6 separate regions of the Homo sapiens genome follow, and all the other regions are linked to region 1. Evidence: promoter capture Hi-C in 16 types of primary human blood cells and fetal thymus (Javierre and others, 2016). All regions are on one chromosome and are shown on one strand. Each heading gives the region's core, a stretch centred on a gene start or on the middle of the fragment in contact. The rest is flanking DNA. Distances are from core to core; before and after follow the strand shown. Region 1 holds the start of VCAN (versican). Region 2 has its middle 190 kb from the start of MIR3977. Region 3 has its middle 240 kb from the start of MIR3977. Region 4 has its middle 46 kb from the start of MIR3977. Region 5 overlaps LOC105379050 (a long non-coding RNA gene). Region 6 has its middle 170 kb from the start of MIR3977.

The links. The method cuts DNA at HindIII sites, captures the fragments that hold promoters and counts their contacts. A CHiCAGO score of 5 or more calls a contact.
Region 2: a fragment that was not itself captured here is called in contact with the fragment with the promoter of VCAN in region 1 in 8 of 17 cell types (M2 macrophages, M0 macrophages, erythroblasts and 5 more); the score reaches 13.7 in M2 macrophages.
Region 3: a contact is called between a fragment that was not itself captured here and the fragment with the promoter of VCAN in region 1, in 1 of 17 cell types (fetal thymus). The highest score is 6.8, in fetal thymus.
Region 4: a contact is called between a fragment that was not itself captured here and the fragment with the promoter of VCAN in region 1, in 1 of 17 cell types (endothelial precursors). The highest score is 5.9, in endothelial precursors.
Region 5: a fragment that was not itself captured here is called in contact with the fragment with the promoter of VCAN in region 1 in 1 of 17 cell types (endothelial precursors); the score reaches 5.2 in endothelial precursors.
Region 6: a contact is called between a fragment that was not itself captured here and the fragment with the promoter of VCAN in region 1, in 2 of 17 cell types (monocytes and M2 macrophages). The highest score is 6.9, in monocytes.

The regions. Positions count from the first base shown.
Region 1 is chr5:83,469,831-83,474,442 of GRCh38, reverse strand. It overlaps VCAN (versican), which reads right to left and starts at 2,699. Exons shown (of 15, transcript NM_004385.5): 1 at 2,420-2,699. RefSeq lists an enhancer at 1,398-2,270. The HindIII fragment of the contact is 5,577 bases long and covers 1-4,612 here.
Region 2 is chr5:82,644,373-82,648,820 of GRCh38, reverse strand. No RefSeq gene overlaps it. Among named protein-coding and RNA genes, the nearest start is that of MIR3977, 190 kb to the left of the region's middle. The HindIII fragment of the contact is 971 bases long and covers 1,693-2,663 here.
Region 3 is chr5:82,599,765-82,603,877 of GRCh38, reverse strand. No RefSeq gene overlaps it. Among named protein-coding and RNA genes, the nearest start is that of MIR3977, 240 kb to the left of the region's middle. The HindIII fragment of the contact is 2,022 bases long and covers 1,261-3,282 here.
Region 4 is chr5:82,792,129-82,796,473 of GRCh38, reverse strand. No RefSeq gene overlaps it. Among named protein-coding and RNA genes, the nearest start is that of MIR3977, 46 kb to the left of the region's middle. The HindIII fragment of the contact is 1,029 bases long and covers 2,117-3,145 here.
Region 5 is chr5:82,733,557-82,737,838 of GRCh38, reverse strand. LOC105379050 (a long non-coding RNA gene) reads right to left here. Exons shown (of 4, transcript XR_948504.3): 4 at 338-3,350. Among named protein-coding and RNA genes, the nearest start is that of MIR3977, 100 kb to the left of the region's middle. The HindIII fragment of the contact is 3,000 bases long and covers 1,483-4,282 here.
Region 6 is chr5:82,666,635-82,671,001 of GRCh38, reverse strand. No RefSeq gene overlaps it. Among named protein-coding and RNA genes, the nearest start is that of MIR3977, 170 kb to the left of the region's middle. The HindIII fragment of the contact is 5,103 bases long and covers 407-4,367 here.

The sequences.
Region 1 (4,612 bases), core at 1,450-3,949:
CATCCCGGCACGCCTCTGCAGTCACATTTGTTGCCGCTGGGAAAGGGAAAAGAGTATCCTAAAACGAGTCTCGAAATTCAGACCCAAACCCCGAAACGAACCCTTCCGGTCCGTTCCTGGCTGTTTGAATGCCATCTGCCCCATCTCCGTTCCTTTCTCCTTTTCCTCCCCTCCACGGTCCTCTTTCCTTCCACTTCCCTTCCTTCCCTTTCTTTTTTCCTCCCACTGCCCGCCTTCTCTCCACTTTCCCGTCCGACGCCCGCCCTGAAGTTGAGGAAGTTTAAGTTTTGGATTAGGAGCCCTTCTTTTGCAATATCCTGGGGCGGGGCCCTAGCGTTGGGTTCAAGTGGTCATGGGTTTTGAGAGCACGGTATGTGTATTATCTTTCTTAAAGACGCCCAGGGTGGCGCGTCTAGACCTCCGAAACCTGGCTCCACCCTGGCCATGTGCGTTCGTCCACTAAGCGGCGAACTGGACCCAGGGCGCCGCGTGCGTTCCAGCCGACTCGCGAGAAGGCATCTCTGCACTTTGCACAGACCAAGACCTTTTTTCAGGGTCCTCCAAACTCCTAGATGTACGCCGCAGATTGTGGAGTGCAAAATGAATGACTTAAGGGAAAACTAGGGCCTTCCATCCTTGAACACAAGGTTGTGAAAGATGCTCGCTTGGTCTGGGGGGCTTGTTTTTCTCCGCCTGTGCGGGACTTCTCCATCAGGGGGCGCCCACACCCGCCGCAAAACTCCCAATTCCTAGACATCTAGGTTCTGCAAGTCTTGTGAGCTGAACTGGGGGCAGATCCGAAGGAGCGCACCGCCTCCCTCGCTCCTCCCTCCCTGCTGCCTTGGAGCACGGGAAAGGCAGGGATTTCACACTAGCCATTCATTTGTCAGCTGTGGGGGAGGGGACGCAGAAGCTAGAGAGAGAGAACAGAGGCTGGGAGAGGGGAAGGGAGGCAGAGAAGATGGAGACAGAGGGAGACACAAAGATGAGGAACGCGACCCAGAGAGACTCTGCCGCGGGTGTGCGCGCGGCAGGACAACTCTCCAGGCGCCGTGTAGATTTCTCCCCCTTCCCGCAGCATCTCCCAGGGACATGCAGGACTTGCCGAGACGCAGTTGGATTGGAGAGCAAATAGTTTAGGCTATGACACTATTTTTCTACCCCGCTCTCCTCTGCCTAACACCCAGACCGCTCCACGCCCAGTGACACAGACCGCGGGCCAGAACAACCCGGATGCCCTAGGTCTGCACGCACCAGGGATGTCGCCCTACAGCGCCCACGCCTCTGCAGGACGGTGGGGCGCTCCAGCCGAGGACGTCCCCCGGGGCTCCCGGCACACGCGCGCGCCGCTGCCGCTAGACCTGCCAGTAAAGTTGCTCAACTAGAGCGGAGAACTAGGAGAGGGTGGGGAATATGTAAGGAAACGGAGGACTCCTGTAGTCTGGGCGAGAGGACTGACCCAGAGGCCCCTGATTCGGGTCCCCGAGCCACCTTTGTCTGCAGTGCGCTCTGGGTGCCGGTTTGCTTGTTGAGATGGGAGCGACAGACCCTATTTCACTCTTCAGGGTGAGAAAAATTGTTGCACATCCCTGCCGATTCAGAACAGGCTTTTCCCGCCCAGGGGCCTCCCAGACCTCCGCGGGGCTCCAACAACCCCACCCCCCATCCTCTGCTCCTTCCCTGCTGGCCCCTTCGCACCGCGTGCAGGACAAAAGAACCCAGGGGCGCCGGGAGAGAACCGTGACAGTCCCCAAGTCGTCAAAGAGACACGGCGGGGATCCTGCACCTCCCCCGGCCGGACCTCCTCCCAGACTGCCTGCGGTCTGAAGGGGTCAGGTCCGCGCAAGGTCCCAGGCTGCTTGGGCGCCGGGTCGCACTGTCAGGAGCTGCCCGGGAGTGGCTTTCCAGGAACACCAGGCACTGACCACACACCAGGGGCTGGGAAACCAGGTGGCCTGCACCAAGGCGGCTTCGGGGACTTGTCTGTGGCAAGTCTTGGTAGTCCCCATTCAAACTTTTGCCTCGAGCGTGTTAAGAACAACAACAACAAAAAAATCAAAGTGCCAAAGGTCCCTCTCTTCTCTCCAGCTCAAGAACCCACCACTTTTCTATGATTTCTTTACAATTTATTCCCTCCCTTCCCCCAATTCCGTTAGTCATTTTACCCCCCACCCCACCCTGGGTTTCTTTTGTCTGAATCTTTTTCAACACCAAGGTCCCTCTGTATGCCTCTCCCCAAAAGCCCTTATGAAAGTTACCTGCATTTTTTAAGTGCCTACATTTTCTTAACTTCGCCTTACAGCTCTTTGCCTTAATTAAAGCCTTCTACCAATTGCTTCTTTTTTCTAAGCTCGCGGGTTTTTTTCTATAAGTTTTTTGTTTTTGTTTTTTAAGGGGGGAACAAAAGAAACGTGATTACCTTGGAAGGCGGCTTATTGCAGTTTGGGGGGAAAATTCACTGCAGCGCTGCGCGACTGGGTTCGGCGTTGCCCAGGCGGGTCACATAGGAAGCGTGGTGGCCCGGGGAAGGATGCGGAGGGTGCGGGACGGTGCTGGAAGATGCGGGAGGATGCGGGGCTGGCCGAAGATCTTGGTCCCAGCTCCTGTCCACAACACCTAATGTTCTCGGCTGTTGCGTCCGCACGCCTGGAGTTCTTCCCCAGAAAGGCTCGGGGCAGCTCGCCTGCAAGTTCAAATGCGGGTTGTGACACCCATCATCATTATATCACTGTACCGTCAGAGCCGAGGAGGAGACTCAGCGAGAAGAAGGAGGAGGGAGAGGAGGAGGGTTCATTCACAGGCTCCAAAAGCGCTCCGCAGCTTCAGCCACTCCTAAGAGTCCAGGCTTGGAAAGCAGGCGGAGGGGCGGAAAGGCAGCTCCCCGCGCCTGCGGTAGGGACCGCCTGCCTCCCTCCCCAGGCACTCCCACCTCTTGGCGTTTCTTCCTGACAAGAAGTACCAATCGGCTTGGGGACAGCAGCGCTCCCCATTCAGGGACTCACTCAGTAACATCGCTCTGCTCGCGGAAACCACTGCCCTCCCACTCCTTCCCCACCCCCATTTCCCCGCCCCCCGTGCAGCTAGTTCTGGGTTAGGGGAAAGGAGCCCCCAGGCTCTTAGGGGGCAGGCCAGCAATAGACAATTGAGTACGATCACTTCTTCTCGGGAGCACACAAAACTGTAAAATCAGCAAAGAACTTGGTTACAGCGTGTTTACGCGCCCACAGAGCTTGCCTGTCCCATCAAAGGGAAGTGTCAGGCTCAAGGCTCCTGCCAACCTGAAAGAGACACTGAGAAAACGAGATCCTTCGGGGACCTAGAGGGAAAGTGTAAGAATTCCCCACTGCACTCCCAGGGAACTGCCCAATGGGGAGCCCGGCTTCAAAAGACCCTGGTAATAAAAGGCTGGACAGGAAATTCCCCCAGGCAAATCCCTTGTCGGATTCAAAGAGAATACTTTTCCTCTGCCACAAATCTCTCCCCACATAAGTCTAGATTCTGCTTTCTTCGTTCTTCCTTTCCTTCAGTCTTTCCAAGTATCTCTGAGTAGAATATTTGATAATTTTCCTGAGTAACAGGGACTTCTTGGAAGTATCAATCACCTTTCATGCTTTCCGGAAATAAGACCATAATCTTTCATGCGTATATGCGATTTTTTTTCTTCAGTCAGGCCCACCCCACTGTGTAAACAGCATCAACACATGGAAGAGTCCCCTGCATTGTGTTACAAAAGATTTCCAATAGGACCTTACAGAGAAAAGGGTCAAACAGTTGACACAAAGGATTTCTGTCCCCTTAGAAAAGAGGGACTTTGGATTTTCCTTTTCTTTGAAGTCAAGTATGAGTTTATACAATAGGAACAAAATAAATCCAAGGTGCACATCAGTATAACACTAGGGATACTAGAATGGATGGCAAACTTTTCCTTCTACACAAATATGAAAGTATCCTCACAACTCTTCTCTCTGAAGCCTCTACTTAGAAAATTATATTAAACATAGGACCTCAAAACAGTAGTGATTAAAGATGAAAGCCAATTTTTCCTCTCAACTTCTTTGATTAGTTTGGTTTAAACTTATGCTTTAAAACTTTTAGTAACTTAGACTCCTGTACATGCGCATTTATAAGATTTCTTTTATATTTTGTAATTTGTAGGCATTCAGCATGGTCATTGATTTTAAGTGATAAACAGGTAGAAGACTTGTCAGGATAATTTCAGTTCTCACCATGTGCATCTTTCATTTCTTTTGTTATTTATCAGCCCTCTGCAGTAATATAACTGTCAGTTACATCATTTGGAAATCAATGTGTTTTTGCAGTGAATTATTTATTCTTAGTAAATTTATTGTACTACCATTCCAAACACTGAAATTTGATTTCATCAGATGTTTAGAATGATAGTCACAGAGCAGAATCAGACTTCAACCTTCATGTATAACATGTAAACAAACTAAGGTGCAGAAAGTTACTGTCCCAAAGTCACACAATTAATAGTCCAGTGGTCTTTTCAGTGCTAATCATAGCAACTTTAGATTCAAGATTGCTTGATTCAGGAATGGAGAGAAATAAAATAAAATGAATGTTCATTGAAATATATACTCCAGACATTAAG
Region 2 (4,448 bases), core at 929-3,428, 830 kb after region 1:
TAACAGAGTGAAATGGGATACTCCTGACAAAGGACAAGTGGCAAAGAAGGGCAATGAAAGTCCTGAAATAAAATCACCAAGAGAGGGGATAACATCTAACCATGTATCAGTAGGGAGGTCAAGGTGGGATGGAAGTTCCACATTTCTGAACTACTGAACCCCAGAACATATTTCAGCAGCCAAGAGGGAGCCAGCTTGTATGCTGAGAATGTGGTTGTGTAATGAAATCAAAGAGTTACACTGCTGCCCTAGGCCAGTATCATCTCCTTGAACTACTGCAGCCAAGAGAGGAATTTGCACTAGCCTCAGTGACAACCACTGGAACAGAAAACTCAGCCCCAGCATCAGCACTTTGGGTGTAACAGGAAGCAGCGATGCTCTTCAATATTAGAAGTGGCCACAGTGGTGAAAGCAGGACAATTCCCTGACCATCTGGATTTGAGCTGAGGTCTACTTTAGTAGCTCCATCTGAAACAACTACTTTAAAGATGATTGTGGAGTTCTCCAGCCTCATGGGTGCACGGACCTAGCTGAGGTTGGATCCAGCTCCAGAGGTTACCCTTTAGAAAACATGAGTTAGCATCCTGAAGGATTCTTGGACATACCAGGGCGAGGGGCAAGGGGAGGAGACAAATTTTCTCATAAAGGAAACCTCCACACAGCCTATTATCCCTGACCGCGAAAAGGAACAACAACATTACATAATACTCAAGGAACACCTAAAGTAAAAAACTATTTGTAAATTTACAATATTTTTGGCACTACATTAGGAGTCATATTGATTAAGACAATTTTGCTGGAACCAGCTTTTTTAAACTCCCTACTCTCATACCAACATAAACAATACCCAAATTCTAAGTACAAATACGAATACCTGCTCTCATTTGAAGTGAAAACTTAATAACAAAATCCTTCAGATTAAAATGCTGATCCACCAGCAAGATCACATAAGCATTTTAAGTTTATTTATACAGCAGGATAAACATATGTCTAGCGCAAAAAAAAAAAGTTTTTGACTAAAATTAAGTTTGGTAAGTCTGTATTATAGTTTTCTTCAAAACATTGCATCAAAAAATAATGTGAAAGGGAACTGTAACCAAACTTTAATCAATCACTGTTAGTTTTTTACATGTTCTCGTATGTCCTAGTACGACTAAACTTCCTCTATTCCATTATACCCCATTTTGTATTTGACTTTTAAGAGAATAAATATAGCTACATATTAGAATTGCATTTTCTTCTACATTTTACTTGAATCCGGGAATACACTTTCTGTTTTCTAAACTCCAATCAGGCTTTCTTCAAATTGAAGATTATCTCTCATGCTAGTTCATGAATTTATTTCTCCTAAGCTTAACCTCATTTTCTATTTTCAAATAAAATATTCCTCCTTCATTTATTTTAAGAAAGCTAGAGACTACCCCCTGTTATTGTCAGACATACATAAATTTTTACACTGAACTCGAAGGAGTGACGATCCATAAGTTGGTAATGAAAGTTGTACAGAATAGCAGCCAGCCCACGATGAGTTCGTGTAGTGGAGTTGAAGGCAGAAAATGGGGAAGAAGGGCTCATTCAGTTCCAGTCCATCAAGTTCATAATAAGCAATTAAATATCTGTAATTAAATCTCCATTTACTCAGCCAACCAGAACGGCACGTTCAAATCCAGTCTTCAGGGTAAGTAACAAGCTTTATAAAAACTACACTCATGAATTCTGATAATAAAGAATGTAACAAAAACAATAAAAAATAAATGTGTGCTTAAGAGATCTGGTGGCATTTAAGGTCTAGACAGGCTTAGCTGAACTCTGAAATTAATACACACCTGCAGAAATAAAATAAACAACACTAAAAATTAATATGCATTTATTTCAGTACTGGATAAGGGTAGCAATTAATGTGGGCAAGAAAGGGGTTTAAGAATGAAACACCTGTGGGTATTAAAAATGGTAACATGCCCCTTTAAAATTATTTCTGTTGCTAGGAACAATATTCACGACACATGGAAGAGGGAGATTTATAATATCATAAAAATGTGATTGCTGGACTCTAGTAGCATTCGTGGGTCTCAATAATACCCTCATTCTATATAAGACAAAATGGATTATATGGCTTTCCATAAAAAAATAATAAACACAAAAACAGTTTCTAATTTGAGTGAAAGTGCTGCTAATAAATGATTGTAAGAGTTACTGTATTAGGGTTTATTGGGCACTTCATGTTTCAGAAATCTGAATTAGAAATGTAGCATTCAGCAGAAGTGAAAATATGACCTCTGTTTTCCAGTAGCTTACATTGTATCTGGAGACTCAAGACCTACAAGAAACAAGTTCAGAGCAATTGTAAAGACGTGCACACACATCCACTTGCAAGATACTTTCCTCTCATTATTTCACTAGTCCTGTAATTCTCGTATAATATGGAAGGAGAGGAGAGCCATTATTTTTATCTTCCTTTTTTAGTTGGCAAAACTGAGACAATGCAGGCTTTTGGGCTTGAAAACCTTCAGTTATTCTGTAAAATAATATAACTAAAGGATTAAACAATAAAATCAGGTGCTGAGGTAAGCAGTTACGTACAATATCTTAGTTACAGCTTAAAACAACCTTATGAGATAGAAATACAAATATATTCCCATTTTAGAAATAAGAAAAATAAAGCTTATCAATAACTTGCTTCAGGACACCCAGCCCATAAGTGATGGCACCCGGATGCAGAATTTGACCCTCTTTCTGTCTGACTCAGAGACCATGATCTTAACCATTACAGTAGCCCACCCTCCACCATATACTCTGCTCTATGAATTTTGGCAGGTGACTTAACCTCCTTGAGTTTCAGTTTCCGCATGGATAACATGCAGCTAACAACATCTATCTCTGCAACTATTATGTGGATTAAATGGCATGACTTTTACTAAATTCTTGCCCCAGTAAATACTCCATAAAAGATGTTTATTTCTCTCCCGCTTTCTCTTGGGGGATTTTCTAAAGGTTATGCTGCTAACAAATGGTAGATCCAGTGCCAAGACCTATGTCCTCTGCTTCTATGTTTTTAGCTTGCCACAAGTCTCTTCCACAATATGCCAGTGCTGCGCAATAATCACAATAGGCATTTTCTTCTGTTCATAACATTTATTGCAGTTCCACTACTTATATGCCCAAAGGCGTTGTTATGTAATAGAGAAGAGCAAGAAGCTGGTGTTCCTCAACATTCCCTAGACATTCATTTGAAAAGCTACTTTCTCTGTAAGCTACGGAACAACCAATGACTTTTTTTTTAATTTTTGAGGGGGATAAGGGTGAGACATGCTAACTGAAATAAAATGATATGTTCTACAAACAAAGGAAGTCCTGGAGATTATTGATAAGTACTCAGATTTGGGAACTATACTGTGAGAATATCATTAAAACCATAAGGCAACCAGCTGGCAAACTATTATTTCTAGAGATGCAGTAGATTTCAATTGACTTGTTTCATTCACTGGGGTTCCCTTTTCTTTTGGATATTTCTTACTATGCTATCAGAAGTGTTTTAGCATTTTCTATAATCTGAAACGAATTGTTTAAGAAAGTGTAATTTACATGCTAAGCCTGTACAAGGACACAAACATAGTCAAATTCTCCATCAGGTAGTAACTTACTAACCAGCCCCACTGGCTAACATACATTAAGATGCAGTGAGTTATGTTTTGAAATGCATGAGTTGTGTCTTGGTGTTTGAAGACCAGATAATACAGGATCTTAATAATTAGTTGTAAGAATAATCACTTGTAATCACAATAATCACTGGCAAAATGTTAATAACAATAATATTGCATGGTGACAATTCTTCCAGCTCCGACACTAACTGAAAGCCGTCCTTCTCTGCCGAGGAACAATAGAAACCAGAGGTGAGAACTTGCAGTGAATCTTTGAATTATTCATGAGATCATACATGTCACTCTCATCTGTATGTTAAAAAAAAACCACTAGAGTGTAATAGCACATTAGTGATGCAAATTACCAAAAGGCAGACTTTATTCTGGTTTAGTGATGATTTTCATAATTCGGTCCACACAGCATCCTTAGTGAAGTGCCTGTTTTTATTCTTTACTGTTGCTAGGATTCATTTTGCTTGGCCAGGTCAACATTTTGGACATCTTTATTTCACTTAACTCATATTTATCCATTTTTATCAGCTCCTAATGCACAGCAACATTGATTAAACCAATTTCATAATTCCTCTGAGATGTAGTTAGAGTAAGTTTGCATCATTTGTACATTTAAAATATGCAAATTTAATAATACATGCACAAATGAGGGAAAATAGGCTATAAAAGGACATGAGAGAGAGAAAGAGGAAAGAATAAAGCAAATGTGGTTAAAATGTTAACACTGGGAATTTTGTGCTGTCCTTGCAACTTTTCAGTAAGTCTCAAATTGTGTCACAATAAATAATTAAAAGAAAG
Region 3 (4,113 bases), core at 1,022-3,521, 870 kb after region 1:
TCCCCCAAGTAGATTAGTCTCTGATAAAGTTCTAACAGGTTAAGCTCTGGTTGAAGTTTCTTCTGTGGGCAAACTTTGTTGAAAAGAACAGAATGATTTGGCATATTTTTAAATGGTTCCTTTTCCCCTCCCCCTGCCAGAAGCATGAGGCAATTTTTTCCTCAATATTCACCGTGAGAACTGAATAGAGCTTCTGGAGGTAAAACTCACAAAAGTGTGGAAGCCACCCTCTCTGACTGATCCCCCCTGGAGTTTTTAACTCTCAGACTTGTCCACACTGAGCCTCCAGCAACTTGTCAGTTCAGGTTTTCCTATTCTGACACTGGTTTCTGCAGAGGTTTCTACTCAAGGGTTTCTGCTCTAGTAAGTTGTCGTTCTCTGTATCTGCCTATGTGTCTCTCCAGTTATGGGGTAGTGGTTTGCCCTGTGACCTCAATTCACTGACAGATCCAAGAGGCCTTCTTAACTTTTCGGGTTGTTCAACTTTAACAAGTTGTTCTACTTATTAGGATGGTATTAAGACTTATAAGTTCCTTATACGTGTCAGACCAGAAACCAGAAGTTTTTCACTGTGATTTTCATTTGCATTTCCCTAAAGGGTAGTAAGTTGAACATCTTTTTATATGCTAAAGACTGTTTAAGCCACATTAATTTTTAGTGATAGCTAACATCTCTAGCTAAAAAATAACTGCATTCTCCAAAATCTTTCACCCAAAGAAACTAGGCTGCTCGGAAATACAGTCATGTGTCTGCTGGAAAAATGACCAATGCCATTTACTTTGTTATGGAGAGTTTCCGGAGGGTAGGAATCGTTATCTTCTCCACCAAGCACAAGGATGTTTATTGAAGTAAATTAATCTGTTGAATATGTATCTTTGAGCTTAATAATAGAACTCCAAGAAGGTGAAACTTCACTTTCTTATTTCATAGAAGTAATAGAGACATCAAAAGGTAGACCAACATGAGGGAAGCTATGGGAGCATAATTTTAAATCTCTAAAATATCCTATAAAGCATAGACTTGTGACCCCCATAATGCTATAGCTTATTGTTACATGTATCGGTACATTGTAAGCAAAACAAAAACTCTAACTGCTACAGATTTTAAAATCTAAAAATTAGTATATAAGGGAAATAAATGTTTGTTCTATCATAACTTCAGCATTACACATGGCTTTCATTGTACATAAAGCCAGTATGGCAAATGTCACTTCTAATTGTTGGTTGCATTTATGTAAGGGCTAAACTTTTACTTCAAGCTTAGTTAAATATAATATCTCAGTAGTTAAATGTTCCTGATTCTACCGACCTATTGTCCATTTTACCTGTATTTCCCAGGTAAATCATATGTTAGTGAATTTTCACGTATGTGATGTTGTTCTCTGATTCTTAGAAGTGATTTAAGTATTTTTGTTGTTTTATAAACAACATGGAATTCATTTTGGCTTTTTCATGGATGAATACTCACTGGCTTGAACTTTAACAACCCTAGAGAGATTCAATCATTCTATAGAGCTCAGGAATTGCAGGCAGATTTACATACTAAAGCCAAGCTAACTCCAAACATATTGCTATGGTTTGAATTTGGCCCCTCCAAAATTTATGTTGAAACTTATCCCCATTGTGGTGGTATTAAGAGGTAAGGACTTTTGGAAAGTGATTAAATCCTCCTTCATGAATGAATTAATGCCTTATAAAAGGACTAGAGGGAACTAGCTTAAGACCATTTTTACCTTTCCATCCCTTCTGCCATTTGAGGACACAGCATTCATCCCCTGCAAAGGATGCAGCAACAAGATGCCACATCAAGGCAAGAGCAGCTCTCACCCCCAGCCTTCTAGCTCCTTGATCTTGAACTTTTCAGCCTCCAGAACTGTGACAAATAAATTCTGTTGTCTAGAAATTACCCAGTCTTGGATATTATGCTATAGCAGCACAAATGGATTGAGACACACATGTAATGCAGGGTCAAATGAGAAGCAGGTGTGACGAGAGGTGCAAGGAATTGCCATTACCCTAATACATGTTTTGGGGCTCTAGTAGGGCAACTCGTTTTGTGTCTATAATAGTCATTCATTTCCTCTCACACACATATTAGATAATATATTGGATTCATTTGGTCACCCTGCCAGTTTATTGTTCATTTGTGACTAAGTAACATGTTTGGTCCTCATTTCCACGTCAGTTCTATTTTTGTTTTGTTTTGGAGGATTTTGAAGCTAACACAAGTTTATAAACATGGACAGCAGATTTTAGGAAGAAAACAAATATGTAAGAATAATGTAAAATATGGCAATTGCCAAGGCCAGCTCGGTCGTGGAGACCCTAACCCAGTGGCACCAGAGGAATTAAAGACAAAGACACAGGAATAGAGTATAAAGTGGAAATCAGGGGGCTGACAGACTTCAGAGCTGAAAGCCATGAACAGAGTTTGACCCACACATTTATTGACAGAAAGCCAGTGATAAGCATAGTTCTTATAGATTATAGATTAACTAAAAGCATTCCTAGTGAGGAGCAGAGAAACAGACTCTGGCTGATTATTTGCAGCAAAAGCATATTGCTAAGGCACAGGCCACTCCTGCTATAATTTGTGGTTAGAGCAGTTTTCCGCTCCAGGTCGGGCCAGGTGTTCCTTGCCCTGCTCCAGTAAACCAACAACTTTTAGCAGTGTGCATGATAGCCATCACGAGCATGTCACATTGCTGCAGAAATCCTGTTTATGGCCAGTCTCTTTAAGGACTGTTTATGACAGGCTTAGGCCTTGCTTTTAAGTAAGAAAACTTGCAGAATTCTAATATTCTAGGAAGGTGTGGGTAGAAGAATTAACATCAACTAAGACTGATTGGAGTGGCAAAATGCTCGTTGCTACCTTAATATCTATTCTTGCCTACTCTTCTTTTCTCTTACACATAGTTTATTTTACTGCCTTCCTTGCAGATAAAGCTGGAAAATGAAATATTCCAACCATTTTTGCCGCCTTATTAGTTTTCCATCCTGCTGCCTGGGAAGTGAAAATTATTGCAGGATCTCCAGTAGCCATCTTGAATTCATGAGGAAAAAGCAAAGAGAATCTTAGAGATCTTGGCCAAGACATCTTAGAGGTGCTGAAACAGCCAGCAAATTCCTACCTGAACATCTTATAACTTGAGAAAAATACACTTTTTTGTGATAAAGCCATTCATGTTTGAATATTCTGTTATTGCCAGCTGAACCTAATCCCAGCTGACGCTGTTGATAATGGAATGGATTCTGAAAGATAACAAATCCCATAGGCTAAGCTTGAAGTAAAAGTTGAGCTCTTACATAAATGCAACCACCAATAATGCTTCAACGCAACCACCAACCAATGCTTAGCTTCAATGCAGAAGAGTATTTCTGGCTAATATATTAAAGGTATAATGGAGGTCATACCTTTGCTATATGATGACATGTACAAATTTAGAAATAGGAATAAGGATAAAGTTAGGATTGAAACATACATAGTGGGAGAATCATGAAAGGGCTTCGAATGATGGGCTGATTTGGTGATTTTACTAACTGGAACAGACTAACCTGGTCATAGGTTGCATGTGTAACTTCTATTCCAGGAGTCGAACTAAAATTGTTCATGGTGTGAGCAACATAAACCAAAATGAAATTAGAATGTTAGGTTATTCATAATGTTTATGAAATAGTCTTCATTGATCTTTATGACTTACAAATGAGGGTATTATTTATATTTTTAAAAGGGACACCTCAAAGATGATTTGTTAAACTTCCATGGTAACTAGTAACTATTGGGAAATTATCTTTGAAATGTTCAAGATCTTTGCATCTTATATTAAGATGTCTTCCATTGTTTTTTATCTAGTGTATTTGATGAGCAAGAACTAAATAATTCTGTTGGCAAATGACCACAAAAAAGTTATGTCAAAACTTTTATTCAATTATCTGGACATAGTGGGAAGAGAGAAAGAATATAGGTCTGAATTATGCAGACACATGTTTCAATTTTCTAGGCAAATATTTTACTTATTAGACAATTTTCCTGATGGCCTTTGGAAACTTTCACCACAAGATGAAAACCAGTTAAACTGTAGAATTCGTTTCAAGTAAAAAAAAAAAATACTAA
Region 4 (4,345 bases), core at 1,382-3,881, 680 kb after region 1:
CTTTTCTTACTTTTGATGATGTTAGCAATCATTGCCTCCATTAATTTATTTCAATAAGGGTTGTAAAATGGTGATATTCTCATTCTGTCATTTTTCTTCATTTATTAGCAAGAAATCATTTATAAAGAGAAATTTTCATTACTTATTTGGTTCCCTTGGGTTATGGTTTTTATTGGAAAGTCAGAAAGAATATTTGATTCTTTATCTTTATTTATAAGCTACTAAAATGAGTTGGCTTTCTGGCATCCTTTAAAAGTGATGAACAAGGTTTGTCATGGTGGTAATTGTTGTGTAGACACATTGTTATCTCAAGAATCTATACATATATACCTCAATACCGTAATTTTTTTTTGGTTATTATTCTTATTGATGCTTATTTTTGGCCACTGGGAGCCTCTTTAAGTTGGCTCCTAAGTCCTTTTGTCATGACCCTGGTAGTTTGGAGAGCTTCCTTGCTCTTGAAAGTGACAAAATATTTCTGACAATTCTGTAAATTATGTTTCCAGATCTGGAATCAGCTCTTTCTCCAAGGAGCCTTTGTTCATTTTAGTAGGAAATGGTATTTAGAGACTAAGTGTAGTTACATTGTTGAATTAGGGGTACATACATGTAGATTTATGTTTGGTCTCTTTATTCTTGTCACAATACCTTACCATCTTAACTTCCATAGCTTAAAGTCCTGTAATTTTTAGGATAAGTCTTTTTACCTCTTCTTCTTGAAAATTCTCTTGAATAGATTTGACCCTTTTGGAATTACATATAAATTTAGAATCAGCTTATTAAGTTTCATGGAAAAAAATTCAAAAATTTTTAAGCATTTTACTGATGTTATAAATGAATGCTAGGATAATGATATCTTTGTATTATTGCATCTTCCTATTAATGAATATGGCATATTGTTCCTTATACTTAGATACTTTTTATATTTTTCAGAAACATTTTATAATTGATAGGAAGTTTTGCTCATTTTTTTATGTGTGACTGACAGTATTTGTGTCTGTTGTGGATCTTTTTTTCTATTTTATACATATATTATGTATATATTATAGAAAATATAATGTTATATATTATAAGTATTATATATACTATGTATTATAATATATAAATGTAATATATACCTACATTGTATATTTAATGTATATTTATATATTATATTATATAGTACATATATTTTCTGGGAATGTAAATTAGTAATAAAGTATATTATACTTTATTAAAATAAATGAGCTTCAGAGAAAGGGAAAATCTGGCAATCATCCTGAGAGTAAATGAATAAAAAGAGTAAGAGTAAAAACTGGTCAAATCGATATTTCTCAAAGTGACAAAGCAGAAAATAAGTTCCCTGTTATTTGACTGGCCAATTTGTGGGAAACAGTAGTGGTGAGTCAAATATGAGACACTGATGATGAATGAATGAAATCGGATGGCATAAGAAACATGGTTTGTCTTTAGATTCCCTACCTTTGATAGAGCTGAGATACAGAAAAATGTTTCTCTACTAGAAGAAAAAGAGAGAAACACATAGTGACAAATGCTAAAGAGGCCATTGAGAATGGTAGTCAGGGAGTCAAATGCTACTCAGCTACAACCATTATCATGCTGCAAGAAGGTGAGCCTACTGTAGCCTGGTCCTCTGAATTTTCAAAGCAAACCAGAAATTCGGATTTTGTGAATTCTCTTGGGTTGTAAGTTTTGGTGACAAATTCCAATATTTTAAGAACATTGACCGTATAAAACACATATATAGACTGTTTATGGTTTGAGGGCCGCTTTTCTATGATCCCTGGATTAGAGATTGTTAGGGCTCAGAAATCAGTAACTCCAAATGTGTTTTGACATGCTGAACTGCAGAAACCTCATGTAAGTGCCCTCCTCCACCCACCGTCTCTCCCAAAACCTTTATCTGCCTAAGATCCAGGCCCACCAAAAGGAACAATTGTTTTTTCTTCTCCCTGTAAAACCAAGAATGCAATGATGCCTGAACAGACCCTTTCACAAGATAATGGACAAGCTAATTTCTGTTCCCTGAGACATTCATTCTCCCTAGTAATCCCCTCAACAGAATTTCTCTTTGCCCCTCTCGGGTAACCTGTTCTGCCAAGGCAGTATCTAAGCTTCTGAACCATTTGGGATGGTGGGCATCCCTCAGTGATTCTCCCTATGTGCACATTAAATAAATATGTGTGCCTTTTCTCCAGTTAATCTGCCTTTTGTGAGTTGATTTTTCAGCAACTCCCCAGAGGGCAAAGGGGAAGTCTCTCTTGGCCCCCACAAGGCTTTCTAAATATAATAATTTTTAAAATTTAGTATTTGGATGGTTGGAATACTTTAGTCAATAGGGACAACAGAAGTAAAACCCCACTTTACTTTCCTTTGGCGGGTTTTTTTTGTTTGTTTATTTGTTTTTCAATCTACAAATTCCTCCTTCCCACCACACTAGCAATTCTGAGACACTCCAGTAGGGGGCACCTATCACGTCATTTGAGGATCTCTGCCACCACTAAAGATGGGATTGTGCTGCTTTCCTTAAGTTGTGTTGAGATAAGAAAAAGGTAGACTAGATAATCATATAAACACAGACTCTGAAGTCTGGAAGACGTCTTGGAAAGAATTAATTCCACCCAGGGCTATGTAGGTGAGGAAGCTAAGTCCCACAGAAATTGAGCGGCTTGTTCCAGGACACATCTTAAATTAGCGGTATCTGCTGCTTTTTAGGTTTCTTAATAATTTTCAAGTTTTGTGCTGCAGTGTACAGTTAGCCAAGCTAGTCATGGGATTGCATGAACATCCCAGGGAAATGCTAGTTTTTTTTTCATTATGCATAATTAGGGCTTAATTAAATTTAATTATTTATAATTATCCAAGTAGAGATTGAATATGCCATATTGTCTTTACTATGCTTGAGTAAAAATATAAAAGGCCTGCGAAGGCAGTAATTGAATAAGAATGCAGAGCCTTGTATGTGTAGTAATTACACTGTAGTTTCCTGCTAGTTTCCGACACTACTGATGGAGGTTTGCATAAAAGATCATTCCCTCCTCATGATAACTCTAGGTAGAATTATCCTTTTTTATACTATAGGCTTATTATAAAAATTGTTTACAAATATCTGGTTGTGTATGTGTACAAAACAGATGTTGAAGCTTTTAAACAATCAGTATGAAAAACAATAGTACGCAAACTTCTTTATTACCAAAAATAATTAAATGTCATCTAACTTATTGATAATTCCAGGTAAATAGCAATAGTACATGTTATAATTTCTTGGGTCCTACTATATTACTCCATTTTCATACTGCTATAAAGAACAGCCTGAGACTGGGTAATTTATAAAGAAAAGAGGTTTGACACACAGTTCAGCAAGACTGGGGATATCTTAGGAAACTTACAATCATGGCAGAACGCAAAGAGGAAGCAAGGCACCTTCTTCACAAGGCAGCAGGAAGGAGAAGTGCTGAGCAAAGGGGGAAGAGCCCCTTATAAAACCATCAGATCTTGTGAGAACTCACTCACTATCATGAGGACAGCATGGGGGAAACTGCCCTCACGATTCAATTATCTCCACCTGGTCTGTCCCTTGACATATGTGGATTATGGGGATTACAATTCAAGATGAGATTTGGGTGGGGACACAAAGCCTAACCATATCACCTACCATGTGTCAAGTGATGCTAAGCACTTTGCAAATTATGTTACTTGCACTTTTTAACATGCCTAACAGGTAGCTAGTATTCCTATCATAGTTTTGGTGATAAATTCAAATTTATAGATGAGGAACTGAGAATCAAGTGATTAAGTGACCTTGGATTTGACCTGAGGCCTCTGACTTCAGAGTCTGTTACATTAATATCTGCACTGTGTTGCCTACCTAAGTAGATGTTTCAGATGACATCAGCATCATCTAAAATTCTAACAAAAATCACTCATTATAGTCTTTTAGAGGATTAAAGAGAGTTTACCAAAACAGTTTGTTCTTCATTCCACATTTCCCTTGGAAGTTCTGAGACTTGATTTCCTCAATGCAACATCTAACTAGTGGCATTGCTCAAACTTTTGGCTTGTGTTTCTTTCTTAGCACATACTTCATAAAATGTAGTTTGAAGCAAGACCCCTTACAAAGAAAGTGAAAAGATCCAAGAAAGCAATGCTGTCAAAACGAATAAACATTGTAAGAGACTATTTGTGGGCACTAGTGAGGAAATTATCTGACAATATGTCATAAATTTAGATCCCAATTAAACACAGGATATACAATAGTTGCCTATAAAATGTGAACATGTTGTAGATACTTTAAAATCCCAAGTTTAATGCTTAATGAGAAAAAGCTGTTGTATGATGTCAAACA
Region 5 (4,282 bases), core at 1,733-4,232, 740 kb after region 1:
AACCAAAAACTAGAGCCTGTCAGGCTCAGAAAACACTATCCCAAAGTGCTTTGAACTGAAGGAGATTGGGTGGGGCTCAGAAGCAAGGTCACTCTGCCTTTCCTCCACCTTTCTGTGTGAAGCATGGTTGTAAAAGAATTATCTGACCTACCTTGCCTCAAAATAGGTCATAAGACCCTCATTCCAGAGGACTTCTGCCCCATATGTGGTGGGAAGGAGTGCTAGACAGAGAAGACAAGAAGATCCTGAACAGACAGGCCTTGCTGGGATACCACTCCCTTTCCCACACTGCTCCCCATCACCCCACCCTCAGCTTATTGCCATTAGATCATACCCTTTTTGTTCAATCACATTTCCACATGGCTGTCCATTCCTCTTCAAACTTTCCATAAAACACAGTTTTTCCTGGGTCTTTGGGTCTCCGTTTCTAAAGGCTCCCATGTCTTAGAAAACTGTTAAATAATTTTGTTATGCTTTTCTCTTGCTAACCTGTCTTTTGTTAAAGGAGTGTTGGCCATGACTCTCATAATATATGAAGAAAAGGTATTATTACCTTTTCACTCCTACAGGCCCATAGTCTAGGAATGGGAAAAAAATATTCTTAATCTTTATGTTTTGCATAATTTGGTAAGTGCTTAACCTTTAGGAAAATGCATTTAACATTCTAATGAGCAATTGGGAGCTAACCTCATGTAATGTAAGAACTGTGTGTGATGAGCACACACCTGTGCTCATGTGCAGACATGCGGTTTAGCAGTCTCCTGGAAGGCAGGTAAGTGGGCTAGCATAGCCAGGACTAAAAGCACTGGCCTAAACAATATCCAGTGTGGTCCTCATGGAGTGCATAGATGTGTTTCAGGACTGAATTGGATCCACTCTTAACATATTTTTACCAAACCAGAATTTGACTCAGCAAATATTACCAAATAGAATGGAGTTTCTTGCTGCTCAGGAGAGAAGTTGATGGGTTAACTTAGAAACCCCTATTCCCATGCGTGGTGTCTAGAATTGTCAATAGATCACATCCACATGATAAATAATGTGGCAGACAGAAGGCCAGGCCTTGCCCAATTTTCCAAGGTGTTGAGGATAGGTGCCTTAAGACACAGTGTTTGAGAGGAGACAGGATGTGAAAGGCTATCCTTGCTCTGAGCCTGGAGGACACCCTTCAACACCCAGTCAAGCTAAATGACATTTCACAGGCGGGAGAATATTTAAGGTAATATCTACTATACCTAGAAAGTATATTTAGAAAGTACAATTGCATTTAGAAAGTACAGTTTTACAAAACTATGGAAAACGTGACTATCTTTAACAATATAAGTCTCTACACACCTTTTAGGTCGTTAAGATTGTTGAACACTTTTTTCTTTGGAAATGAGTTGAAGAACATCATTTTGACTCCCTATCAAAAGATTCTCAAAAATAACCAGAGTTTTAAACATCATGCCTGATTCGTTTTTCCCCATTGATCCAGAAGCTTCAATTATTAAATAAAACAAAAATCTGTTGGAATGCAAATTACCTCTTTTCTAATACTTTGAAGCTCTCCTGTGACTTTCACCATATACTTTACTGAGTATGCCAGCTGTTTGGGGCTTCTCTTTTTCTCCTATGAATTATAAGTTCCTAAAACCCAGAAACTTTTTAAAAATTCATTTTAAAAATAATTTCTTACCGAGACTAGCTTGTTGTGACTACAGTAGAAAAGTGAAAAATAGTAAATAATATTAATTGAGGCTTGGCACCGTGGCTCACACCTATAATCCCAGCACTTTGGGAGGCCGAGGCAGGTGGATCACTTGAGGCCAGGAGTTCGAGACCAGCCTGGCTAACGTGTCAAAACCCCGTCTCTACTAAAAATACAAAAATTAGCCAGGCGTGATGGTGCACATCTGGAATTCCAGCTACTCAGGAAGCTGAGGCACAAGAATCTCTTGAACCTCGGAGGTGAAGGTTGCAGCGAGTCGAGATCGCGCCACTGCACTCCAGCCTGGGTGACAGAGCGAGACTTTGTCTCAAAAAAAAAAAAAAATTAATTGAGTATATTGCAATAAGGTAAAACCATTTTTGGATGTGAAGCAGAGACTTGAGTCTACAGAAATCCTGTTTTAATTGTGTTCCATCAAGGTCTTGGAGTTTGGTCTCTGAGTAGGCTAAATAACAAAGGATTATTATGCTCGTGCATTGCAAGCTATGGGAAAGTTCATAAATTATCTTGATGACTCATTTCCTCTGTCACTCTAGGACTTCTAATATAGGGAGACCTTTTCTGTTGCCTTTAAAAAAAAAAAAAAACTTGTGAGATAAATGGGGAGAAAAGTCCTGAAATTGAGCTTGTTCAATAAGTGTTATTTAATGTTCATATAAAAATTAAACTGTGTTATAACAATGTTAATAACCAATTGATTCCAAAGGCCATGCTTAAAGGCCTCTGCCTTTAAACTCAGTCTTCTTAGTGCCATTTTGCAGAGTGGCTTGTGACCACAGGAGGTTATTTATTTCATCCTAAGCCACACAGGATATTTCCCATACATATGCTCAGTATACCATGGAGTGTAACAAAGGTCCCCTGTTCTTGAGGCAGCGATTGAAAAGAAAGTAGAAGGGAACCGTCTCTTTAATTTCTGAATATTGTGTACTATCAGACTCTCTGAAATGCAATTCAAAACCTTAAAAGGTTGTGGCATTTCTAGATTTCTCTGTCTTTATCTAGTCACCTACAAAAAAAATTTACATGCTTATACATTGATTGGAGATAAATAGCTTCATTTTGCTCTTTGAATCTTTGACTAGGCATATATATTTTAAGATTTTTTTTTCTAAGTACTTAAGACTGTCCTAAACAAAACAAATGCTGAATCAATATTTCAGGATTATCATCTGTAAACTTCTGAAAATCTGCCCATGGATTATTGATGTGTTTTGTTCTCATTCCAGAATCCTTTGGCATCTGCTTCATTTCACTGTTCTCTCATTTTTCAGTTTTTCATATAGGCCAGACAATTAACTACAGCATTAAAGTAGCAAGGATGTTAATTCTGTGCAATGCTTTGAAATATACTTCATTTGATATTATATACTATGGATAAAAGTTTTTATTTTCTCCTTATTCTTCCTTTTGAGGAAGGGAAAGAAAGAGTGAACTAAAGACATTAAACTATGGCTAACTGACCTCGTGAGTCAGTGTTTCCATGAATTTTACATCTCTCATTGCTGAAATTTTGGATGTTCTGTTCTTCATTTGAAAGCCTGCTTTTTATTGTTGGCGTGTATTTCCTGTTTTCTCTTTTCTCAGTTCCCACTCCTTGCGTCAGGACTCCCCTCAAATGATGAATTTACAAAGGAACCTGTTAACAGAGTAATAAACTCGGCCTCCCCACCCAGTGCCTGTCAGCACTCCCACCCAAGACCTCCAGTCTCCACATGGCTCCTTTTCTCTTTTCCTCTCTTGTCTCTCTATCACCCAGAGCCCTTTTCATGTACGGCAATATCTCACATGGGGACATCCTCAATTCCCAAATGACCTCAGGGAAACCTGACATTTGCCCCTGACACTAAAACTTACCAAAAATGAAAAAAAAAAAAAATAGAATTTCTATGCACAAGTCTCCTTGAATTTGGAAGCCAAGGAAATATTTTCTGCTATTGCTACAGATAGACTGAAGAAAGTTCTACTTGGAAAAACCAGAGCTGTCTGAAGAATGTAGGGGAGTGATGGATAACAAATTTCCTTTTGGGAGGTAAGTCTAAGGACATGGGACTGCCTCTGAGATCATCGCCTGTGTCAGAGGCAGGTGGAGCATTTAACACATGAGGGCTGAGGTGTGAGATTCTCTCAACATGCTTGGTATATTGATACTTAGGGGTATTAGTGAGCTGGCTCTAATTTGGAATTATTTAGCTCCCACTTCTTGCATGTTCCTTCCTCCTCTTTCTCTCAATAGGCCTTAAATCATTAATTACAAACATGACATGACATGAAAACCCATGATCTTTGATAGTGTTGGGCTCAGACAATGATACCCCAAAGCGAACACTTCAGAAGTAACAAAATTTTTCTCTGGCCTTCTCCTTCCCTCCTGTCTCTCATCCTTCATTTCCCCCTGAGGCACACCATAGAAACTAGAATCTCTCTTCCTTAAGGCGGTCATAGAAACCAGGATCCCTTTTCCCCAAAGCCAGCCATAAGACCTAAAACTGTGACTCTAAAAATATTGCTCTAACCTGCCTTGCTGCGTTTCCCCCGTGGTCTATTACTATTAGATCATAGCCTTTTGCC
Region 6 (4,367 bases), core at 1,709-4,208, 800 kb after region 1:
AATAGTCAATCATCAGATAATTTTCTTTGGGAGAAATCTTCATAGCCATCTTTGAAAAACATCTGGCCTAGAGGACAGTGCCGATGACTGTTTTATGGTTTAATGCTCCAAGCCTCCTTTCTATTTGTTTTAACTGGCACACTACAGAAACCTCTTTAATAATTGCCCAAGTTATTTTCATAAAGAGATTTTTGTGCCTTTCAGACTGCATAATTAAATTTCATGTGTGCGTAAGTATGTGAGATAGATGATGGATGGATGGATAGATGGATACATAGATACATAGATAGATCACAGCTCAGGTTTGAATTCTGTAACTGTGCTCTCCCCACTTAGTGATTTAGAATAAGTCAAGCATAGACTGAACATAACCCACATCTTTTAAAGATGCTGTGTCCACTAAGCTTGTTCTAAAATAAGTAAATAGTTCCTAGGCATGCTTGATTGTTTATTATTTTATTATTTAACATAAAAGAGAGAACTTAACATGGAAGTAATTTTCAGATTAGTTACCCTGCAGCTGCTGAACCAGGATAAAAAAAAAAAGCCCCAGGGAAGCCATTGCCAGTAATGATGGCATTTTTCACACATTACTTGAAAGTGGAACAAATAAGGAGTCTGGTGCTTTCCAAACAGAAGAAAAAAAAAAACTTGAAATAAAAGCAAAAATTGAATAGAAGTAGCTGAATGCTTCTCATTCTCTGACAAGGTCGTTCAGTGTGGCTCATGGGATGAGTCTATCAGCTAAGTCTCACAAAAAGGAAATCCCATTCTTTATGTATACCCTTCACTGGAAGCTAAATGGGAGGAAGAGAATGTAGTGGAATGCATGAGGAAAGAGCATCTTTATCCCTAGAAAAGGAACAATTTTTAGTCTTCATTTTGGTTAAAGATTGGCTATAGATTTAACTCAGCTATACTGAAAGAAATATTGCATTTGACGTAGGGTGCCTAATAATCTAACCTATGTGACATTCACATTTCCCAATCATGTTTGCCAAGAAGAAATCAAGCTGCATAGCCCTGAGGGCAATTAGAGAGGTAAGAGGGACACTGTTTACTGGGCCTCAGAGTCCTGATTATAGATCATTATTATTCATATTGAGTAACAGAATAAACACTGGTACAGGAGTTCAGGAACATAAGTTCTAGATGTGTATCTGCTTGTTGGCTGTGTCTCCCTCAGAGTTGGATTAGATAAAAATTATGATCCTTTATAGTTCTACATTCTAGAGTTTTTTTTTTTTACAAGGAGCCATGAATATCTTTTGTAAATAAATCATTTTTAAGTCTCTCACTGAATGAATAACATTCATGCACACTAGAATGCAGTTGTTCTGAGGGCAACTAAAATTAGAGTGATGACCCCACATTCTGTTTTAGGAGTCTTTGAACTGCTAAATTAATGACTGATGGGCAATGAATATAGGGGTCATTTTGTTGAAGAGAAGAAATACTGTTCCACAGTTTTCTTGGGGGATAACCCTGGGCCCTTGTCTTGATTTGAAAAGGTACTCAGAATGCAGAACACAGAATTTCAGTAGATTATGAGAAAGTGAGACAATAGAAGTAAAGAATGGATAATTATGTTGGATTACTTCGCAATGAGCTACAAATTATTTAGTCCCAAGCTGTCCAATAAGGCGGGTAGTTGTCACTTGGGTATTAAGCACTTGGCTAGTATGAGTTGAGATGAACCATAAGTGCAAAATACACATTGATTTTGAAGACTTTGTATAAAAAAACTATGGAAAATATTTCAATAACAATATTAATTACATGTTGAAATGATTATATTTTGGATAAAATATATTACTAACATTAATTTTACTGTTTTCTTTTTACTTTTTAAAAATGTGCCTTTTCAAAAATTTAAGATCACTTCTGTGGCTCACCCTGCATTTTTACCAGGTGGTGTTGATTTAGACATTTGCTGACCTTACATGGACCCTGAAGGATTTCTGTTCCCTATTGCATAGCCAAGAAACAAGACTGAGATTGAAGGGTAGGGCTGGAAGTAGAGGGAAGATAGAAGCAGATTGGAAGGGAAAAAAACTAATCGCTGTGCCTGGAGCTATATGGGTTCATGCCAAAATATGTACTTGTATTTGCATCTATTTGTTTCTTTGATTGCATTGTACATGAAGGAAATATCAGTCTTGTTATTTTTTGGTTTTGTTATCCAAGTATCTTCTCTCCCTTATTAGGCTTAGTTATTTTCTAACTAGAGACACTTTGATTCATAGAAATATGAAATATGAATGTATCTTCAGCTCTTCTTCCTCCTTATTTCTAAAGCAGGGAAACCAGGAAAACATGAGAGATTCACAGGGGCCACCACCACAAGAGGTCTTTGGTAATTGATATGCTCTAATGGCGGTAGCAGACTTTGTGGGTTACTAAACACTTTCTATCCTTTCTCCCTTTCAACAATACCCCAGTTTTGACCAAGTATTCAACCTATTGGATTTTTTACTTTTTATTATTTATTATATAAATCTATTCATAGAAAACAAAATCTGAATGACCAATAAACATAAGATGCTTAATATCAGTAGTCAGGGTTATTTAAATTAAACCAAAGAAAATGAAACGCATTTCAAATTCATCAAATTAAAATTATTTTAAATTATTTCAAGTGTAAATTATTTTATTAAAATTATTTTAAAGAATTTGGAGCCGTAGATATTCTCATAAGCTGCTGGTGGAAGCATACATTGGCACAACTGAGAAGGAAATTTAACAATATCTAGTATAGTTGATACTATACGTTTCAACCTAGCAATTCTTCCTCTGAATATTTACCCTAGACACATGGAGAAGAATGTTCATAGCAGCAGTGTTTGCAATACTCTAATCAATATAAGAATGTGGTATATTATACAATGCAATATGACATAGCATTAAAATGAATGAACTGGAGTCTTATGTATTAATATTTAAAAATCTTCACAACATAATACTGATTGAAGAGAACAGAGAATGGCATTTAAGTGTGATACCATTTATGTGAAGTCTGAAGATATGCAAGAAAATACATTATTTACAGCTATCTCTTATATACGTGATAAACAAAATTTAGAATATCTCTTACCTTTGGAAAGAGAGGGATCAGGGAAGGGTACCCAGACCTTCAAATAACATTTTATTTCCTTTAAAAAAGGGGCAGGGTCAAAATGGGCTAAATGGAGACAAACCCTGCCTAAACCACTGTTTGGCAGCATCAAAAGTATTCACCAATTTCTCATTATGTATACTTTCTTCCACTTATGTAACAAACAAATCTTTTTTTTTTTTTTTTTTTTTTTGACAGAGTTTTGTTCTTGTGGCCCAGGCTGGAGTGCAATGGCGCAATCTCAGCTCACTGCAACCTCCACTTCCCAGGTTCAAGCAATTCTCCTGCCTTAGCTTCCTAAGTACCTGGGATTATAGGTTTGCACCACCATGCCTGGCTAATTTTTGGATATTTAGTAGAGACGGGGTTTCACCATGTTGGCCAGGCTGGCCTCGACCTCTTTACCTCAAGTGATCTGCCTGCCTCGGCCTCCCAAAGTGCTGGGATTACAAGCATGAGCCACTGCGCCCACCCACAAATCATTTTAAATACCTACTCTGTGCCAGGTACAGTACTAGGGATATAAAGAAGGAGAACATGTTGGTGAGAGATTCACAGACAGCACTGGGGGCATAAGGCACAGGTGTTTGGTCTGGCCTGGGACAATGGGCAGGGAGGAGCTTACAGAAGCCTTCCTAGTGAAGCAGCCCCCATGGTGGAGCGTCCAGTAATGAGAAATGAGTTAGGGAGGCAAAGGGGGAAGAAGTGAGCCTAGAAACTTACAGAAAAGGGCAAGAAAACAGAAATCCCAGCATTAGCAGACACCCAGAGATGGAAGTGGCCTGATTACTGGGCAGAAACCACAGCCAGTTTTGTGTTGCTGTGACTTGAAATGTGAATTGAGAGATAGGGCTGGAAATGGATGTAAGAGGGGAGGATAATGAGGGATGAAGCTGTAGGTTGGCGAGGAGCACATCGCATAGGACCTAGTGGGACATATAAAGATTTTTTTACCTTTAGTCAGTAGGCACTGGGAGGAAAGTGACATATCTCATCAGGGATGTTACCTGTACCTGATAAAACTGAGATTTCATTGTGACAGGAGAAGGTAGAAAGGGAGAGAAACCAAGGCAGCCAAGTGAGCTTAGAAGCAATGCAGCTTTGAATGACAACCTGAGCTAGATCAGTGGCTACACAGGTGGATTGAGCAGGATGGGCTCAAGAGATATTTTAGATGAAACAAAAGAATTTGGAGATAATTGGATATTGGGGGATAACAGCAAGTGGAAGGAGTCAAGGATGACTCCCAAAT